Regions from separate parts of the Homo sapiens genome. Here region 1 is linked to region 2. The links are contacts of gene promoters, found by promoter capture Hi-C in blood cells and fetal thymus (Javierre and others, 2016). All regions are on one chromosome and are shown on one strand. Each heading gives the region's core, a stretch centred on a gene start or on the middle of the fragment in contact. The rest is flanking DNA. Distances are from core to core; before and after follow the strand shown.

Region 1 (4,591 bases), core at 278-2,777, 120 kb after region 2:
GCCGGGCTCAGTGGCTCACGCCCAGTAATCCCAGCACTTTGGGAGGCCGAGGCGGGTGGATCACGAGGTCAGGAGATCTAGACCATCCTGGCTAACACGGTGAAACCCCGTCTCTACTAAAAATACAAAAAAAATAGCCAGGCATTGTAGCGGGCACCTGTAGTCCCAGCTACTCGGGAGGCTGAGGCAGAAGAATGGCGTGAACCCAGAAGGCGGAGCTTGCAGTGATCCGAGATGCCGCCACTGCACTCCAGCCTGGGGGACAGAGCGAGACTCCGTCTAAAAAAAAAAAAATTAAATCACATGTAATTGTCTGTTTGGGCCCCCACTGATCACCACTTCTAAGGGGGGGCTCTTCTCTGGAACAACCGTGTATAGGTCCCCATTCCCACGGCAATGCTTTGAGGGGCTTTTTGCCTGGGCTCTGGCTGCTCCCTGGCCCCTCCACTCAGCGACTTCCCTCCCCTCCCCTCTCGGCTCCAGCACATCATCTTCTGTTTGGGCTTTTCCTCCGGTTGCTCCCTCCATGTTCCCCCCCGCCTTTTCTCCCAACACCAGCTCCCACTTCCCCTTCCTTAGTGGAGTAGGTAAGAGCAGACCGCCTGGTTTCAAGTCCTGGCCGTGCCATTTCCTAGCATCTAGCAGTGAGAACTTGGGCAAGTTCTTCCCTTCTCAATGCCTCAATTTCCTCAACTGTAAAAGGGGAATACTAGCAGTTCCTAGCTCACAGGGTTGTTTGAGGATGGAAAGGTATTAAAAAGCCTTACGGGGCCTTAGCTCTTTAATTTGGCTTGTAGTAAGCACACAAAAGTGGTTATTATTATTATATTATTTTAGAGATAGGGATGATTTTAGAATGCAGTAGCACGATCATTGTGCGCTACAGTTTCAAACTCCTGGGCTCAGGTGATCCTCCCATCTCAGACTCCACAGTAGCTAGGACTACAGGCACATGACACCACACCTGGCTAATGTTTAAATTTTTTGTAGAGATGGGGTCTCGCAATGTTGCCCAGGCTGGTCTGAAACTCTTGGCCTTAAGTGATCCTCCCACCTCAGCCTCCCAAAGTGCTAGGATAACGGGTGTGGGCCTCCATGAGTGGCCTAGAGTGGTTATTATTACCTGCTTGGCCTACTGGCCTCCAGAATGCCTCCCTGACCACTGACTCAGCCTCTCGCTGGATTGTGTTACCCACATGGTATTGGAGCTCTCTGCCTTGCCTGTCTCTTCCAGACTGTACTCTTCTCTGGGTAGGAAAGGGGCTATTCTGCATCCTTGGGTCCTAGCATGCAGCAGGTGCTCAATGCACGCTTGTTGAATGACCCACTGAGCAGAGAATTGGCTGAGGCCAAGAAGGTCTGGGATGTAGAGGTTGGGGACAGCTTTCATAGGACAGTGTGCCCATCCTTCTAGAAGTGAGAGTCTTTTTTTTTTTTTTGAGACAGAGTCTCGCTCTGTCGCCCAGACTGGAGTGCAGTGATATGATCTCGGCTCACTGCAACCTCTGTCTCCCGTATTCAAGCGATCCCCCGCCTCAGCCTCCCGAGTAGCTGGGACTACAGGCATGTGCCACCACGCCCGGCTAATTTTTTTGTATTTTTAGTAGAGATGGGGTTTCACCATGTTAGCCAGGATGGTCTCGATCTCCTGACCTCGTGATCCACCCGCCTTGGCCTCCCAAAGTGCTAGGATTACAGGCGTGAACCACCACGCCTGGCCCAGAAGTGAGAGTCTTACTCTAGGTTCTTGAACCCTGCTCCAGCACCCCTGACCTTGCCCCCAACCCCAGCACATCCTGCCCTCCCGTGGCGCCCCCTCCACACACTGTTGCCCACGCACACCTGCCTGGTCCCCAGGCAGCAGCTTCCCCTGACACACATTTTCCACTGCTGGGCGGGGCAGAGCAGGTTACAGGTGAAAACAAGGTTTCCTTTCCTGAGTCCTTCCCCCACCTCCCAGCCCTGTTCCCTGGTTTGGTTTCTGTCCCTGCAGAACATACCTGTCCACAGTCCCTGACTTCAATGGCACAGGGTCCATTGGGGGCCAGAACATTCAAGGCTATGTGAGTGCCACCTAGGGTCTTAGATCAAGTACAGGGTATAGTCAGGACCTTGGCTCTGCTGCATTTGAACTGTGTGACTCTGGGCAAACCCGTTCCCCAGTCTGAGCTGGGTGACTCTGGGCAAGCCCCTTCTGCCCTCTTTCCCCATCTGCAAAAAGGAATAGTAATTCCAGTCCCCTGGGACTGTTATGGGGATTAAATGGGAGAATAGAGGGAGTGTGAATGAGTTCTATCAATCTGATTATTTGTGGGGACAGGGCAGGTACCCAGTGGAAGTAGGAGAGGTCACTTTCTCTGGGCCCAGCACTATGCCAGCCACTGAGGGGTTGTGAGTGTTTAGAATCTAGTGTGTGCTCCGGATGGGGGAGGGAGACTCCAGTGGACAGTACACTAGCCTGAGAGTAAGAGACCTGGGTTTGGATCCCCTAACTCTCTGTGTAACTTTGGCATGTCTCATCGCCACTTCAGGCCTCAGTTTCCCTGACTTGAAATAAGGGGACTAACTTGGATGCTCCTCAGGTCTGATGTCCTGGAGACTGCACTGTGCCAAGAGAAGGCAAGGCCAGGTAAAAATGGTGCAAACTTCCAAGTTGACACCATTCCTAAGTCACTCCTGCTGAGAACCTGGGGTGAAATCTTGGCTAGAGGCCAGTTCTCCTTGATTTCCTCCCATCGGCTTCTGTGACAAGTTCTTTTGTGTCCCTAGCTGGTCTGAATCGCTGCCCATCTCATCAGCCAGGCTTCCTTCTTCTGGCTTCATGAGCCCCTGCTCCTCTATGAAGACCAGCTGCAGTGTTCCTTCCTCCGGGAAGCCTTTTCTGACTCCCTCCAGCAGAATTAGGCATTTCCTCCTTGGAGCTCTCACTGCCCCTCCTAGAACACTCCATCACCGCACTTACCTCTCTTGCTTAGACTAAGTGTCTGAATACCTCACCAGGTTTGAAGGCAAGATCTGAGTCTTGTAGTTGCATGTCAGGCATCCAGCACAGGACCATGTGCAGAGTCAATGGTGGAGGATGGATGGGGGAATGGGGAGAAAATGAATGAATGGATGAATGAAGGAATTGAGAGGTGGATGGCTGTGTAGGCTATGGACAGATGATTTGATGGGGGGATGAATAATTGTTAAAGTGAAGAGGTCAGCGAATAATTAGCTACTGATAATTATTGTTGGCACCACACATCACTGGAGTCACCAAACACACGCCTGGACATACCAGCGAATGCTCCTTGCTTCCATGATTCCAGGGCTCTGGTTTCCCCTCCAATGCATGGATGTTGGCCAGAGAACCCTCCTATGGCTCTCTCCACATGAGAGCCTGGGGTCAGCTGCCCATTAGAATGTCTTACCTTTCTCAACACATTTTAATTTCTCAACTATCAGGGTTAAGATGATGGTGACTAATTCACTGTGAACTCTGCGTACTACACGAGGCTCGGGAGTGGGTGTTTCTGGATGTTTTGGTGAGGAGGGAATTGCTGACCATGACACTGGCAAAGATGCCAAGATGACCCACTGGCCACTTTTCCTGCCTCGTCTACTTTCCCTTCCTCTCCCCACCATCCAGTACAGCCTGTACCTTCACCCATGAACAACCCTCTCATCTGCTAAAAGAGAATTTTACAACTGACCTTGAGTCGCCAGTTATCTTCTGCAACCTACTCCATGCCACCTCAGAGACCCAAGAAGAATAGGGGTCAGAACCCAATTTAAGCCTGGGCATAGTGGCTCACGCCTACAATCCCAACACTTTGGGAGGCCGAGGAGGGCAGATCACCTGAGGTCAGGAGTTCGAGACCAGCCTGGCCAATATGGTGAAACCCCGTCTCTACTAAAAATACAAAAATTAACCGGGTGTGGTGGCAGGCGCCTGTAGTTCCAGCTACTTGGGAGGCTGAGGCAGGAGAATCGCTTGAACCTGGGAGGTGGAGGTTGCGGTGAGCTGAGTCGTGCCACTGCACTCCAGCCTGGGCGACAGAGCGAGACTCTGTCTCAAAATAAATAAATAAAAATAAAAATGGAACCCAGTTTGGAGGGTTGCTGCCTTTCCCTCAGTCTGTCCCCTAGAGTCGGTTGATAGCAGGAACACTATGGGACTTGGGGGCAGAAGACTTCAGTTTAAGTTTTGACTTTTCAGCCCTTGTCAACTGCTTCCTTCTGGGAGGAGGGGCCCAGAGGTGGACAGAGCAGCAAGGAGAGACAGGCTTTGGAATGACACAACAGCAGGTTCGAATCCTGCTCTGCCAGGGAGTTACTGTGACCTCAGGCAAGTGATTAACTCTTCTGAGTCTCTGCTTCCTCATCCGTAAAATGGGAGAATACCATCACCTCCCACCTCCCAGATGCTGCTCAACCTCTAGCCATGTGTGATGATGGAAATGCCTAATTCTGCCCAAGAAAGTCACAGAAAGCTTCCTGGACATTTTTCTATGTCTTTTAAAATCTCAAGAATTTTTATATCTATTATAATGGATAATATTTCATATTGATAATATTTTGAGACATTGGATTAAATATGTTACTAAAA
Region 2 (4,808 bases), core at 1,293-3,792:
TTGTCTTGCCTGAACTGGGGCAAAGCTGAGCCCTGAACAGAGCCTGCTGTGGCCTCCAGACCCATTCTAAGGGTCCCTCCCCCAACACACAGTGCTTACACTTACACAGCCAGGCAAGGCCAGATGTATGGGCATAAATGGGCATTTCTGTCCATGGATAAGGTTCATATTGGAGCCCCTTCTCCTGCTCTAAGATTCTAATGAACAACCTGGGGAGGAGGATGAACCATGAAATCCCTAAGAATGTGGATGGCACTGAGCTATTCTGGGTCATGAAATGTGAGGCTATGAAGACAAATCTCAGGAAGCTCTCCAAAGGATGGGCTGGACAGCAGTGTTTCCCTGTGAGCCCCACAGTAAAATATAACCCACATCCACAGGCAGTGGACTCTGCCCAAGGAAGGAAGCCAAATCTGACCGGCTGCTTCTTATTTTAATAAAACATGTACCCCTACTATGTGCAAAGTAGTAGGCTAGGCTCCGTGAGACAAATGAGACAAGGTGAGGCTCTGTGAGACAAATGAAGACAAAAGAGACCCAATCACTGTCTAAAGAGATCTGCCGATTAATCTGACGATAATCATTCCATTTATCAAGAGGCATGGGCCAGTGCAGCGGCTCACACCTATAATCCTAGTACTTTGAGAGGCCAAGGCGGATAGACTGCCTGAGCTCAGGAGTTCAAGAACAGCCTGACCAACATGGTGAAACCCTGTCTCTACTAAAAATACAAATATTAGCCGGGTGTGGTGGAGCATGCCTGTAATTCCAGCTGCTTGGGAGGCTGAGGAATGAGAATTGCTTGAACCCGGGAGGCAGAGATTGCAGTCAGCTGAGATCGCACCACTGTACTCCAGCCTGGGAGACAGAGCAAGACTCTGTCTCCAAAAAAAAGATGCATGCTTTATATGCATTGTCTCATGTGAGGTACACATTATTACCCCCATTCCACAGATGACAGGACAGGTCACATGCCCACGTTCACCCAAATGGCAAACTGCAGAGCCAGCGTTTGAAAAAAGGTCTGCCTTGGCCGGCGCGGTGGCTCACGCCTGTAATCCCAGCACTTTGGGAGGCCGAGACGGGCGGATCATGAGGTCAGGAGATCGAGACCATCCTGGCTAACACGGTGAAACCCCGTCTCTACTAAAAATACAAAAAAAAAATTAGCCAGGCGTAGTGGCGGGAGCCTGTAGTCCCAGCTACTCGGGAGGCTGAGGCAGGAGAATGGTGTGAACCTGGGAGGCGGAGTTTGCATTGAGCCAAGATCGCGTCACTGCACTCCAGCCTGGGCGACACAGCGAGACTCCGTCTCAAAAAAAAAAAAGGAAAGAAAAAAGGTCTGCCTTCCCCAAAGTCGATGCTCCTTCCACAATCCTCTATCACCCTTACAAAGTGATACAAACAGACTCCGAGATGGAGGGTCACCCTGACAAGAGAGAAGAGGACAGATTTCCTGACACTGGCGCAGGGTGTTATGAACTACTGAGCTTTGTATCTGCCACGCAGTGGGTGCCTAGTACACTTAAGGTGAAGGGTGGAAGGCTAGAGCCGTTGCTGAGGTCCAAAATGCCACCCAAATTGAGGGCATCCTTTGGATGGGGAGCTGCAAAAACACATTATTCTCCGTTGGACCAAGGCCACGGGGTGTCTGTCCTAGAATATTCTTTGCAGAGGAGCTGCGGAAAGCTGCAGCAGGTTCAGAGAAGAGGAATGGAAGGAACTCCGAAGAGCATGGGAATGGGGTGGGGCAGCCTGCAAGACCGAAAGAAAAGGCCTGGGACGCTTTGCTGGGAAAGACAAAGAGGAGAGGGGAGGGGAGAGGAGACGATAAACTTGCCAACAGCCCGGCCAAGGTGAACCCCGGCTCCTGGCGCCTTCCCATCCGCATTCATTCCACAAACGCGGGCCAAATCTCCGAACCAGCCGCAAGCGGGAGGGGGCCTCTCTGCAGCCGGGGGGAAGAAAGTTCAGGACTGAGGCGGGAAGCCTGCCTCTCAGAAGGGGAGTGACTCGGGGGGCACACTTGTGGGGCTCCGAAGATGAAAACGCAAACTGAGGCTGGAAGGCGCTAGGCAAACACATATGTGATGAGGCGGTCACGCGGGGCACTTGGGGTACGTCCCCCGACCTGTGGAGTTTGTCATCGAAGAGACCTCGAGGCCCCCCAAAACGGTCCCTCGGGCCTTCCCCCGCCTCGACGGTGAGGACGCAGCTGTTGGAGATGCGCTCGGTCCTCCCAGACCTAGGGAGGGGGCAGGTTTCGGGGCGCGGTGAAGGGCCATCGCAGCTCGGGTGCGACACGCCTGTGGAGGTCAAGGCCAGGCCCGGCGCCGACCCCCGACCCCTCCCGCCTCGGCCCCCTCACCTCCTCCCGCGCCAGCGCCGCCCCTCGGTACCGGGGCATCTTGGCGGCGAAGGCGGCGGCCCCAGCCGGGGAGCTGAGGTCCTCCGCGGTGACGGCCAGGAACTCGGCGACGCTGAACTGCTCCGGCATGGCGGGCGCGAGCGTGGAGCTGCCGGAGCGGGGCGCGGGGGGCACTGAGCTGCTCCGCGCTGAGCCGGCCTCACCGCCGGCCGGGGGCGCCGTCCCGGCCTCCACACGCCCCGCCCCTCCGCACGCCCCGCCCCCGACCCTCCAGCCGCTCTCCGCTCCTCAGCTGGGACGGCCCCGCCCCCGGCTCCTCGCCTTCCTCCACCGCCAAGGTCCAGGCTCCGGCCCCGGTCCCGGCCCCGCACCGCGTCAGGCCGCTTCCCCGGCCCCTCGCCGGCCCCCTAGGCCACGCCCCCAGCCCCTCACCGCCTCAGACCCCGCCCCCTGGCGCGATGCCCCACCCCTGGCCTCAGTAGAAACTCCTCCGCCTTCCCCCATCCCTGCCCCTTCAGGGCTCTGTCCCGTTTCATCCCGCTCTGGGTCTTCCAAATCCTCCTCCCTTGCACGGCCCAGGCTGTTCCATCTCCGCGTCGAGTCTTAGAGCCCCCTCCCTCTTCCTCCCTCCTCTGCTGATTCGTTCCGAGTTCCCCATGACCTCGCCCCTTCTGCCCTACCACCCCCCCGCCACCCTTCCCTCCTCTCTCCCCAGTCCCGCCCAATCTCCTTGCCTCGCTCCGCCCCGAATCGCCCCACCCCTCCTTTGCTGCGTACGCCCAGCTCTCAGCCTCAGCTTTGCAGGCATCCGGAGACTCCCTCCTGATAACCCCCGCCGCCCCGGGGATGTGTGGATCGGGGCCCCTGGCTAGCTGTGTGACTTGGGGAAAATTACTTCTCTTCTGGAACCTCAGTTTCCTTATCTGTACAATGGGAAGCCTGATGCCCGCTTGATTGTGATGTTGCGAAGAACCGAACACGTGCGTGTACTAGTTCCCTCTTACCCGACCATAGATCGCACCCACGCCTTTACTCTTCCTGCTCCTGCCTTTCACCCCTTAATCTGGCTCACCATCCTTTGGGGCGGATGAGGGATGGGGTTCAGGATAGAAATCCACTTAGGTTTAGTTCTGAAGCCTGAGGTCCTCTGGGGAAAAGTTCTCCAAGTAAAAAGCTAGGAAAGCACCGCAGCAAGGAACATTGGTTTTGGAGTCAGAGGAACCTAGATTCCAATCTTGGTTACTTTGGATAAATTGCTTGCTTCTCTAAGCCTGCATTTCCCCCTCTTAAAATGGCCTCATGGTATTTTACCCCACAGGGCGGCGATTGAGAGAATCTTTTCTTTTCTCGCACAGAAAAGAAAAGAAAAGAAAAAATCCGGAAAGATATGCACTAAAATGTTGCACCAGCAACATTTTATGCACTAGCTGAAGACAGATATGCACTAGCTGAAGACATTATGAGTAACTTTCTTTTCTTTTGGTGAATCTGTATATCCTAACTTTTATACAATGACCATATACTACTGTGTAATAGAATTAAAAGTTGACGGGAGCGATGGCTCATGCCTGTAATCTTAGCACTTTGGGAAGCCGAGGTGAGCGGATTGTTCAGGAGTTCAAGGCCAACCTGAGCAACATGGCGAAACCTTGTCTCTACAAAATATACAAAAATTAGCCCGGCGTGGTGGCTCTTGCCTGTAGTCCCAGCTACTTGGTGGGCTGAGGCAGGAAAATGGCTTAAACCTGGGAGGTCAAGTTTGCAGTGAGCTGAGATCCTGCCATTGCACTCCAGCCTGGGTGACAAAGTGAGACCCTGTCTCAAAAAAAAAAAAAAAGAAAAAGAAAAAGAAAAGAAAGAAAAAAGAATTAAAAGTTGAAAAAAATGTGTACCATCTGATAGAGACGACAACTATTCCAAGAGTTCTTTCAAGGTCAACTTCTCCTGTTGAAACCAAATAGGCACTTTTCTTGTTATTTATTTTTAGAGACAAGGTCTCACTCTGTCGCCCAGGCTGAAGTGCAGTGCAATGATCATAGCTCAAGGCAGCCTCAAACTCCTGAGCTTAGGCACTTTTCTTGCTTGACTTTTAGGAGCATCTGACAATGTTAACCACTCCCTTCTCCTTGAAACACCCTTGCCCCTGAATCCTAGGAGAACTATTTTCTTTGGTGGCCCTCTCCCTCTGGCTGTTCCAAGAGCCCTTTCTGAGATGCACTTCCTCCGCAGGGATCTTAAATGCTGGAGTTGTTGGGAGCTCTCTGCTAAATCCTCTGCATGTCTCACTCTATCAGCCTTCCTGGATTTCTTCATCCAATCCCAACGGTAATGTTGATGTCTTCTGTACTAGTTTCCTGTTGCTACTATAACAAATCACCAATAACTTCCCTCAGCCTCCCGAGTAGCTGGGATTACAGGCACGTGCCACCACACCCAGCTA

What was found. Contacts are between HindIII fragments. The CHiCAGO score rates a contact against its expected background, and 5 or more counts as called.
Region 1: a fragment that was not itself captured here is called in contact with the fragment with the promoter of ASAP3 in region 2 in 1 of 17 cell types (neutrophils); the score reaches 5.7 in neutrophils.

Annotation. Positions count from the first base shown.
Region 1 is chr1:23,605,439-23,610,029 of GRCh38, forward strand. No RefSeq gene overlaps it. Among named protein-coding and RNA genes, the nearest start is that of MDS2, 20 kb to the right of the region's middle. The HindIII fragment of the contact is 5,891 bases long and covers 1-4,473 here.
Region 2 is chr1:23,481,637-23,486,444 of GRCh38, forward strand. ASAP3 (ArfGAP with SH3 domain, ankyrin repeat and PH domain 3) reads right to left here and starts at 2,543. Exons shown (of 25, transcript NM_017707.4): 1 at 2,369-2,543. The coding sequence starts at 2,497. RefSeq lists silencers at 2,378-2,827, 2,948-3,057, 3,068-3,117 and an enhancer at 3,308-3,407. The HindIII fragment of the contact is 9,206 bases long and covers 1-4,808 here.